Regions from separate parts of the Homo sapiens genome. Here region 1 is linked to region 2. Evidence: promoter capture Hi-C in 16 types of primary human blood cells and fetal thymus (Javierre and others, 2016). All regions are on one chromosome and are shown on one strand. Each heading gives the region's core, a stretch centred on a gene start or on the middle of the fragment in contact. The rest is flanking DNA. Distances are from core to core; before and after follow the strand shown.

Region 1 (4,717 bases), core at 740-3,239, 73 kb after region 2:
AAATTAGCCGGGCATGGTGGTGGGTGCCTGTAGTCCCAGCTACTCAGGAGGCTGAGGCAGGAGAATGGCATGAACCTGGGAGGCGGAGCTTGCAGTGAGCCGAGATTGTGCTACTGCTCTCCAGCCTGAGCGACAGAGCAAGACTCTGTCTCAAAAAAAAAAAAAAGAAAAAAAAAACATTAACAACCCAACACAAAAATGGGCAAAATAAGACTTCATCAAAGAAGATACACAGACGGCAAATAAGAAAATGAAGAGATGTTCAAAAAATCATTAGCCATTAGATAAATACAAATTAAAAATCATGATGAGATTCTTCCACACCCCAATTGGAACATCTTAAATTTTGAAGACTGTCCATGCCAAGTGTTGTCAAGGATGTGGAGCAACTGTAACTCTTATATATAGCTGGTGGGAATGAAAAATGGTTAACCACTTTGAAAAACAGTTTGGCAGTTTCTTAAAATTTAAACATACACTTACCATATAACCCAGTTGTAGGATATAATAAATTCCTCTTCAAAGGTTTTAGCCTGTAAATTGTTAAGTACAATGAGTTCTGGTATCAGTAAGTTCAGCTCCCTGTTCTTTATTTTAAAGCTTAACTTCCTCGTTCTCTTCTCTCCTTGCCCCTAGTTTCAGTAAACAAACTCCTCCTAGCCTCTATCACCTGCTCCATCCTGAGTCACCTCTGGTCACCTGCTCTGTCCTGAGTCATCCCTGGTCAGCTGCTCTGACCTGAGTCATCCTGAGTCACCTGTTCTGTAACCGTCTTCCCCGCTAAACAACGCACCCCACCACTCTGACTCATACCCCTGCTCTCTTTAAAATAGCCAATTGGAATTGGCTTAGACTGTGTCGTCCCACCCTAGCCAATAGGGGAACAACACAGCAGTAGGGGCTACCTGTGTCAGGAATAAGAACCCCTTCCCCTTCCTTGTTCAGATGTGCTCTCGCCATTGCTCCATCCACGAGGTGCGCCCTTCTATAGAAGTAAAATTGCCTTGCTGAGAAAATTAAATTTATGTTCGAGTGCTATTTCTTTTGTGGCATCAAAAATTTATTTCTAACACAGTCATTCTATTCCTAGGTATTTACCTAGAAGAAATGAAAGCATATGCCCATAAAATTTCTTTTGCACAATTGTTCATACCAACTTTATTTGTAAGAGCCTCAGACTAGAAATAACCCAAAAGTGCATCAATAGGTTAATGGATAAACAAATTGTGGTAAATTTGTACAATGGAATACTACTCATTCTAAGGAACAATAAAATAAATGAAATATTGATACATGCTATAACATGGATGAATCTCAAACTAATTACATGAAGTACAAGAGGGCAGGCAAAAAAGAGTACATATTGTATAACTCCATTTATGTAAAAGTCTAGAAAATGCAAAATAATCTATAACAACAGGAAGTATATCATGTGGATGGGCATAAGGCAGGGAAGTGCAGGAGGGAGAGATTACCAAGTGGCACATGATCCTTTTGGTGTGATGGGTGTATTCATTGGCTGGACTGTGATGATTGTTTCACAGATGTACACATATGTCAAAACTCACCAATTGTATACTTTAAACATGTGCTGTTTATTGTATATTAACCACATCTCAATAAAGCTCCATTATATTCTGTATTTCCTCCTTGAAGAAAATCTGTTTTAAAATAATGTTTTATCCTTATGGTTAGGTACTTTACAATGCTGTATTAATTATCATTTGGAATTCTATAAAATCATTTATAGAATTTACACTTTATGTCTATTGTGTAGTTCTTACAAAAGATTCATTAGAATATTTTGAAATCACTTAAAAGGAAGTACAGTTATAGATTTTGTATTGGTTCCATTTTATTCATTGTATTATTCAAACCTATTGTATCTTTACGAAATTTTTAAATTATTTTGATAATGTAGATTTATTGTCTTCAATTATAATTACACATTTATTGTTTCATTGATGATAGATGATTCTTTTACATATGCTTGACTGGGGTGTGGGGAGGGAGTCTTTTTTGAGGGTGGTTCTGTGGAGGCAACTTGAAATTTCTTAAACTCTACATTAAGTTGGGGCTCTTTTTTTAATTGCTTCAGAAATTTTATCTTCAATTATTCCTTTTTTTTTTTTCTTTTGACAAGGTCTCACTCTGTCACCCAGGCTGGAGTGAAGTGGCCCAATCATGGCTCACTGCAGCCTCGACCTCCCTGGCTCAAGTGATCCTCCCACTTCAGCCTCCTGAGAAGTTGGGACTACAGGCAAGCTCCATTACACCCAGCTTTTTTTCTTTTTTTTTTCCTTTTTTTTGAGACAGAGTCTCACTCTATTGCCAGGCTGGAGTGCAGTGGTGTGATTTTGGCTCACTGTAACCTCCACCTCCCAGGTTCAAGCAATTCTCCTGCCTCAGCCTCCTGAGTAGCTGGGACTACAAGCGCATGCCACCACGCCCAGCTAATTTTTGTATTTTTAGTAGAGACAGGGTTTCACTGGGTTGGCCAGGATGGTCTTGATCTCTTGACCTCGTGATCCACCCGCCTTGGCCTCCCAAAGTGCTGGGATTACAGGTGTGAGCCACCACGCCTGGCCTTTTTTTTTTTTTTTCAAGTACAGATGAGGTCTTGCTACGTTGCCCAGGCTGGTCTTGAACTCCTGGGCTGAAGTGATCCTTTCACCTCGGCCTCCCAAAGTGCTGGGTTTACAGGTATGAGCCACCACACCCAGCTTAATTATTTCTTAAATTGTGCCTATTGGCTGGGTGCGATGGCTCGCGCCTGTAATCCCAGCACTTTGGGAGGCCGAGGCAGGTGGATCACCTGAGGTCAGGAGTTGGAGACCAGCCTGGCCAACGACTCTGGAGACTAAGGCAGGAGAACTGCTTGAACCCAGGAGGCAGAGGTTACAGTGAGCCGAGATCGCACCATTGTACTCCAGCCTGGGCAACAAGAGCGAAACTCCGTCTAAAAAAAAAAATTGTGCATATTGCTGGCCTTTTCTTTACCTTCTTATATAGCTCTGTGTCTTGTCAGTTGGAGCTTAGATGCACAGAGCCACATCTTTTTTGGAAGAGACTTTGGATACTATGATCTCCCAACCTCTTCAACTTATAGACAAGGAAACAAAGGCACAGAGAATGTCTTACCTAAGGCCAAATAACTGGGTGAACTGGTTTGGAACATCAAAGTTTTAATTTCCTGTTCTATGTCCTTTGTACTCCACATCCTCTTTTTCATCTTTTTAGGATGGATCATCATTTCCATTTAAGGGTTCTCTGCTTAACTTCCCTGTGGCTTGAGACATGTTTTCATGTTGTTTCCTTTATTACTTGTTAGCTACATTGTCTCATTTCTCTTGGGGAAGCAAACCTGTGTTGTGTGAGAAAGCTTTTAATAACCTTTTCCCCCACCCTGCTACTCTATGACTATGACCTATCTTTTGATAAACTGTTTCCTAATTTTTAGTCCTCAGGTCTTGTTTTTTGGTTTTACTTTCTTTTCTTACAGTCAATTCAGTTGCTTCAGTCTCATGTTTGTGGTTCTTAAGATTTTCCCTCTATTTTCTTCCTTTTTCTTTGGGATCTTGAGGTTATAAAACCTTTCCCTCCCACCCTCATTATGACTGAGACTTACTTTGTTAATTCACGTCTTGTTTAATCTTATTTTGTTTGTCTTCTACATCTCTATTGTTACTTTAGTGGGTTTTCTCAAAACACTCATATTCATTCCATCTTCTTCACAGAACCCTTTTGCTTATAACTCGGGAAAACACAGAAGTTCAATTGTATTCTACAAACTATCATGTGAAGTAAATTATCAATAAAGATTAGGATGGTAAATAGTTTTTGTCTGACTCCTCCCCTTGTGAGCCATCTCTCTGAGCACCTCTTGTTTCCCTGATGAGCTCTTGCTACCAGGTATAGTAAACAGAATTGATATGAGATCAAATGAGAAAGTGTGCATGAAAATAATTTAACTAAGAATACACTGAGCAAATATATTAGTGTCAAAATCATGATATCAATTAACTAAGATTATTAATTAATGTTAAACTTTAAAATAAAAGATAAAGGATAGTTACATGTATATTACAGTTAAATTAAATGCTGCTTTTGTGGGGGCACATGGTGGACCCCTGTACTAGAATTCCTTTTCCCAGAACTATGCAGGCCAGAGCCACATTTCAGAAACTATTTTTTTAAAGGATCAGAAATCAATTGGAATTATAATAAAACATATGACACATCTGATGAAACATAATGTTCATATAAAATAAAATGTGCTTACTTGTTTGCAATTATCTATATGTATACATTTTTATATACAGTAAAAACAATCATCTATTTTTCAGACACTGAGCTGGAACCACCCAAGTAAGCTACTCCTGGATTTCTGAATGTCTGAAACTGTGTAACATGTTTGTTTTTTCAAGCTGCTAAGTATTGGGATAATTTGTTATGCAGCCATACTTAACTAATACAGCAACTCTGCCATGACATTTCCTCCAAACTCTTTCAGGGTACAAGGGACTGGGTAATGAGAAGGGAGGACCAGCTCAGGAAATTGTTCCAGGGCTTTCATCATTGGGAGTGGTTAGATCAATGCTTTGTCACTTCTTTTCCAATAGTAAATCGAGTCATGGATTTCCAGCACTCCCTTAGTTCTAAAGGGAGAACCATGACTCTGTTCATAGCAAGAACATGGAGTCTCTTACAGAAGGCA
Region 2 (4,381 bases), core at 1,462-3,961:
TAAATTTTAAACTGCTATACCATGACTTTTCTGCCATAAAACGTGTGATTTGAGTCATACTGGGCTGTGCGTCTTAAAGTTAAATGTGGACTTCTAGTACATTCAATGTGCCAAGTATTTTTAGGCCCAAAAGAAGGCAATAATAAATAACAGTCAAAAGAAAAAAAAATGTGTGACCAAATTATTTTCCATAAAAAAATGATGGCTTTGGCAGTTGAGACACTTCTCATCTCTAAACCAAGAGAGTTTATTTATTAGAGATCTTTTACCCTAGTTACTCCACTTCTTCCCCCTATGGTAGAAATAAGAATCGCCATAAACCAGTCAGCAAACAAGGGGCAAGAATAATATACGATTTTATATTTTCTCTAAAGAAACATTTATCACTTCTGCAGAGTGTGTTCCTCTCCTCTACCCTAATAGTGAGATATGAGTTTTATAACCCGCAACCTACAAATATCCAAGTGTTAAACTGCTAGCGAGCTCATACTCTTGTCTATCACGCTACATGTCTATAAGGTACTAAAGAAGGAAAAGATTTGTCTTGTAAAAGATACAGCTGACAAAAATACTTGAAACAACAAAAAAGATAACCATCAGTTTCAGCTGCTTCCCACAGCAACGCAGAAAGCCTTTCTCAAATTACATTCCACTTTCAGGAAGTATATCCAAAGATATACTTTGTGCAGCAGTGAAAAAAATTAACCATATTTCTCACCCAATCCTACCAAAACCAACAATTACTAAAAACACATTCTTTAAGACATTGAATATTCTCTCAGCACTATTTCACGTATATTTCTCAACCCATTAAACAATGCAAGGGTACCTGTGACACAGAAGACAAAAAAAATTTTTCTTTTACACATCCAAGATGCAAATTTTTAAAAATCCTAACAGAAATATAATATAAACTCGAACATGGCAGGCATTTATACAAAATGCTCGCCTTATTTTCACCAAACTTAAAGTCTGAAAAGCTAATACTGTACGGTGTATACTGTCTATATTCAAACTCATGATTTAACATTTAAATCCTAGGCCCAAGTGCCTCTGATAGTAAGTATTCCAAAGATGTGTCCCCACTCTGGGTATCTTATTATTACTATCGTGACAAATATTGCTATTGACAGACAACGTTTTGGAGTTTTTCTTACGTTTTTATGAACTTCAACTGACAAATAATGCTTTCCAGTTTGTAACTAGTTGATATTCCAGAATTTTGAGAAAATCACTCAACTTAGTAAACAACGCTAAGAAGCCACACTTTAAACTGTCATTTTACGATAACCTTAAAAGGATACACCAACACTCCTCCAAATAATTTCAGACTCCTCCTCAAAGCTGGGATCCGCATACTTGATTGTAGGAAGCTTGGACGAAGAAACCTGGGCAGCTTTAACGCTTCCAGGAAAGGCCTCACTCTGGGGGAACAGCCAGGTACCAGGAGGTACAGGTCGTCCCCTCTCCCAGGTGGAGGGGACCCTAGGGGAAGCCCGATACTCGCCTGACTTTTCCACCAGCTCCCGGACATCCTTCTTCTCGGGCAACCCTGAGTAGCCCAACCCCCGGCACTCCAAAATGGTCTTCAGCTTCTTGAAGCTCAGCGCCACCGGATCCACCAGCTGGGTGGCAAAGATGCCAGTTTCATACCACACAATGGCCTCAAAAAACCTGGCCAGGACGAACAGGACCAGGAAATAGAGGAGCAAGAAAAAAAGCTTCAGCCACATCTTCCCTGGAGTTTCCTCTCTTTCCAGAGAGCTCGGAATACGGGAGAGAGAAGGGTCGAGGGCGGGGGCCGCGGCTCGGTGGCAGCTTGGGCGAGGGCCCCGTGTCCACGCGCGGGCCACCCGGCGCCGTCACTGGCCGGCCATCCCCGGCGGGGAAGCAGGTGACGGGATCCGCGCGGGCGCGAGGCGGCGACGAGGGACGCAGAGACGCAGAGCCTCGCGCCGGGCCTCCCAGTCAAGAGCCGACAAAAATAAAGGGGAAAAACTCAAAACCCCCATCCATTAAGCACAGAAAGGAGAGGGGCGCGGGGAGAGCTCGCGGGGAAGAACAAAACGAGGGACGCTTCCCCCGGGGCGGGCACTGACCCAGGTGGCGGGGTCGGCCCTCCGGTGCCGCGATCTCAAGGGGGAGGGGGAGACCAAAAAATAACTCAGATCCGCCCAGGAGGCGGGGATCCGGGCGGCAGGCCGGGGCCCGAGGGGCCGTGGGGGCCGGACTCCCGCGGCCGCGGGTCAGGAGGGCGCGGCGCTCGGCCGGGCCAGGCCCGGGGCCCAGCGTGTTCTGCGCGGGGAGGAGCGGCCGCCGCAACGCCGCGCCCGAAGCCCAGGCCCCAGGCCCCGCCGACCGCCCAGGCTCCGCGAGAAGAGCGGCGGGCACGGCGGCGGCTCCAGGTTCGCTCGGGCCGGCTGGCGGGCGGCGCCTCTCAGGCGGGCGGGCACTGCGGCCCGGCCCAGGATGGGGCGTCGCGGTCTCTGCAGATGGAATCGGTCTCGGAGGGAAAAAACCAATAATAGGCCCCGAGACTGCTCCTCCAGGCGGCTACCCGGCTGCCTCCCGGCCACTCAGCGCCCGTCCCGCTCGGATGGGCAGTGCCGGTCGCAGCACCCGTCCCCAACACCCCCGCCACCTCCGGAGACCGCGGCCGTACCCTCCACAACCGTGTATCAGCGGCGGCCGCGGCCGGAGCCGAGACATAACAACTGACGTCGCGATGAGGCGGGGCCGGGGCGGGGCCTGCAGGGTGCGCCCGCAGGGGCCGAGGGCGGGGAATTCGGGGAGCCGCGGGGCTACCGGACTACCGAACGAGGGGCGGGAGGAGAGGCGGAGCCGCAGCGTGGTCGGGGCCTTCCCGCGGTGCCGAAAGTTGCCTCTCCGTGCTTTTGCGGCGTGGTCTCCCCTTTTGCCCCTCCAATGTTTAGCAATTGATTTTGTCTGAGGATTAGTCTTTAGATTGTATCACTTTGTGTATTTTTTGTAAAAATAGAGCAGTTAATTATTCTCTTAAAATCGGTGAAAATAGAAATGTACGTTTTTTGATGAATCCTGGTGAACAGGGAAATTTTTGGCACAGTTGGTTTGAGATGGTAGAAGGTTAAACCCAGAAAGCAAATGTTTTGCCCCCTCTTCATGAGAATGTGGCTTTGCACATGTGTGTTGGAGGAGGTTTGGCCAAAACTGGAGTTCGCGTTATACTAGGCCCAGTTGTCGCTGCCAGTTACAGCCTTTTCCCTCCTTCAGTCTCAAGGGTGTTAAAAGCCTGGTGTGGACTCCCTGAGTTCCTAGGACAAAGATTGTCGAGTGTAGATAAGTCCAGGTGCAAAGTTCCGGGTGCTTTATTTTGTACATGGGCCTGGCACAGTGGCTCACGCCTGTAATCCCAGCACTTTGGGAGGCCGAGGCGGGCAGATCACGAGGTCAGGAGTTCGAGACCATCCTGGTTAACACGGTGAAACCCTGCCTCTATTAAAAATACAAAAAATTAGGCCGGCGTGGTGGTGGGCCCCTGTAGTCCCAGCTACTCGGGAGGCTAAGGCAGGAGAATGGCGTGAACCCGGGAGGCGGAGCTTGTAGGGAGCTGAGATCGCGCCACTGCACTCCATCCAGCCTGGGTGACATAGCAAGACTCCGTCTCAAAAAAAAAAAAAAAAAAAAAAAAAAAAAAAGAAAGAAAGAAAAGAAAAAAAAGAGTCACATGGACAAGCATGCGATACCTGGTTCTGTGCTTATAAATTTAACCGGGCCGAGCGTACTCTTTACGTCAATCTCTGTGTCAGTCTTGAGGGAGGAAGGAGTTGGGTTCATAAACTGAACAAGGTTGGCTTTGACCAGCCCCTTTTGATAAGGAAGGAAAAAAAAAACAGTAATTACGGGGAAATGTTACTATTTGTGCAAAACTGTCAACTATCTGAAACTAGGGGTGAAAGTTTTAGGAAGAAAGGGATCATGATCCCAGGTCATGGAGCAAGGGAGGAACGGGAAGCAAAGAATGGACTGTGAGAATGTAGCCTCCGAATGGTGCCCATTTAAAATAAAGTGAACAAGGGCATTTCAGTGCCGGGCTAGTGGGGGAGGAGTTGGAAGGGGATGGGCCCAGGGAGCATTGAGAATCAGAGGAGGAGGTGTAGGAATGTCCAGCCAGCAACTGGACACTGCCCCTGTGTCTTTAGCTTCCATGTGGCTTTGTTCTCGTGGCTGGCAGATCAGTGTGGGAGACTGTGTTAAACAACTGATTCTAACAAGCCTGGTTCTGAAATTTCAGAATTCTTGGGCATGTCTTGGTGACCCTTTGATGATATTGTCCAAACCTTGACACTGAAGGTGATGTCCCTCACCTCAAAGGAATGTATGTACTCGCTAGTGAGGAGAG

The links. Contacts are between HindIII fragments. The CHiCAGO score rates a contact against its expected background, and 5 or more counts as called.
Region 1: a fragment that was not itself captured here is called in contact with the fragment with the promoter of RNF103 in region 2 in 6 of 17 cell types (M2 macrophages, M0 macrophages, M1 macrophages and 3 more); the score reaches 7.6 in M2 macrophages.

Annotation. Positions count from the first base shown.
Region 1 is chr2:86,694,511-86,699,227 of GRCh38, forward strand. The region is part of intron 1 of RNF103-CHMP3 (RNF103-CHMP3 readthrough); the gene reads right to left. Among named protein-coding and RNA genes, the nearest start is that of RMND5A, 23 kb to the right of the region's middle. RefSeq lists an enhancer at 173-1,372. The HindIII fragment of the contact is 2,782 bases long and covers 599-3,380 here.
Region 2 is chr2:86,621,154-86,625,534 of GRCh38, forward strand. RNF103 (ring finger protein 103) reads right to left here and starts at 2,712. Exons shown (of 4, transcript NM_005667.4): 1 at 1,508-2,712. The coding sequence starts at 1,733. The region is part of intron 2 of RNF103-CHMP3 (RNF103-CHMP3 readthrough); the gene reads right to left. RefSeq lists silencers at 1,533-1,582, 1,763-1,842, 2,113-2,652, 2,733-2,902 and an enhancer at 2,613-2,907. The HindIII fragment of the contact is 8,880 bases long and covers 1,720-4,381 here.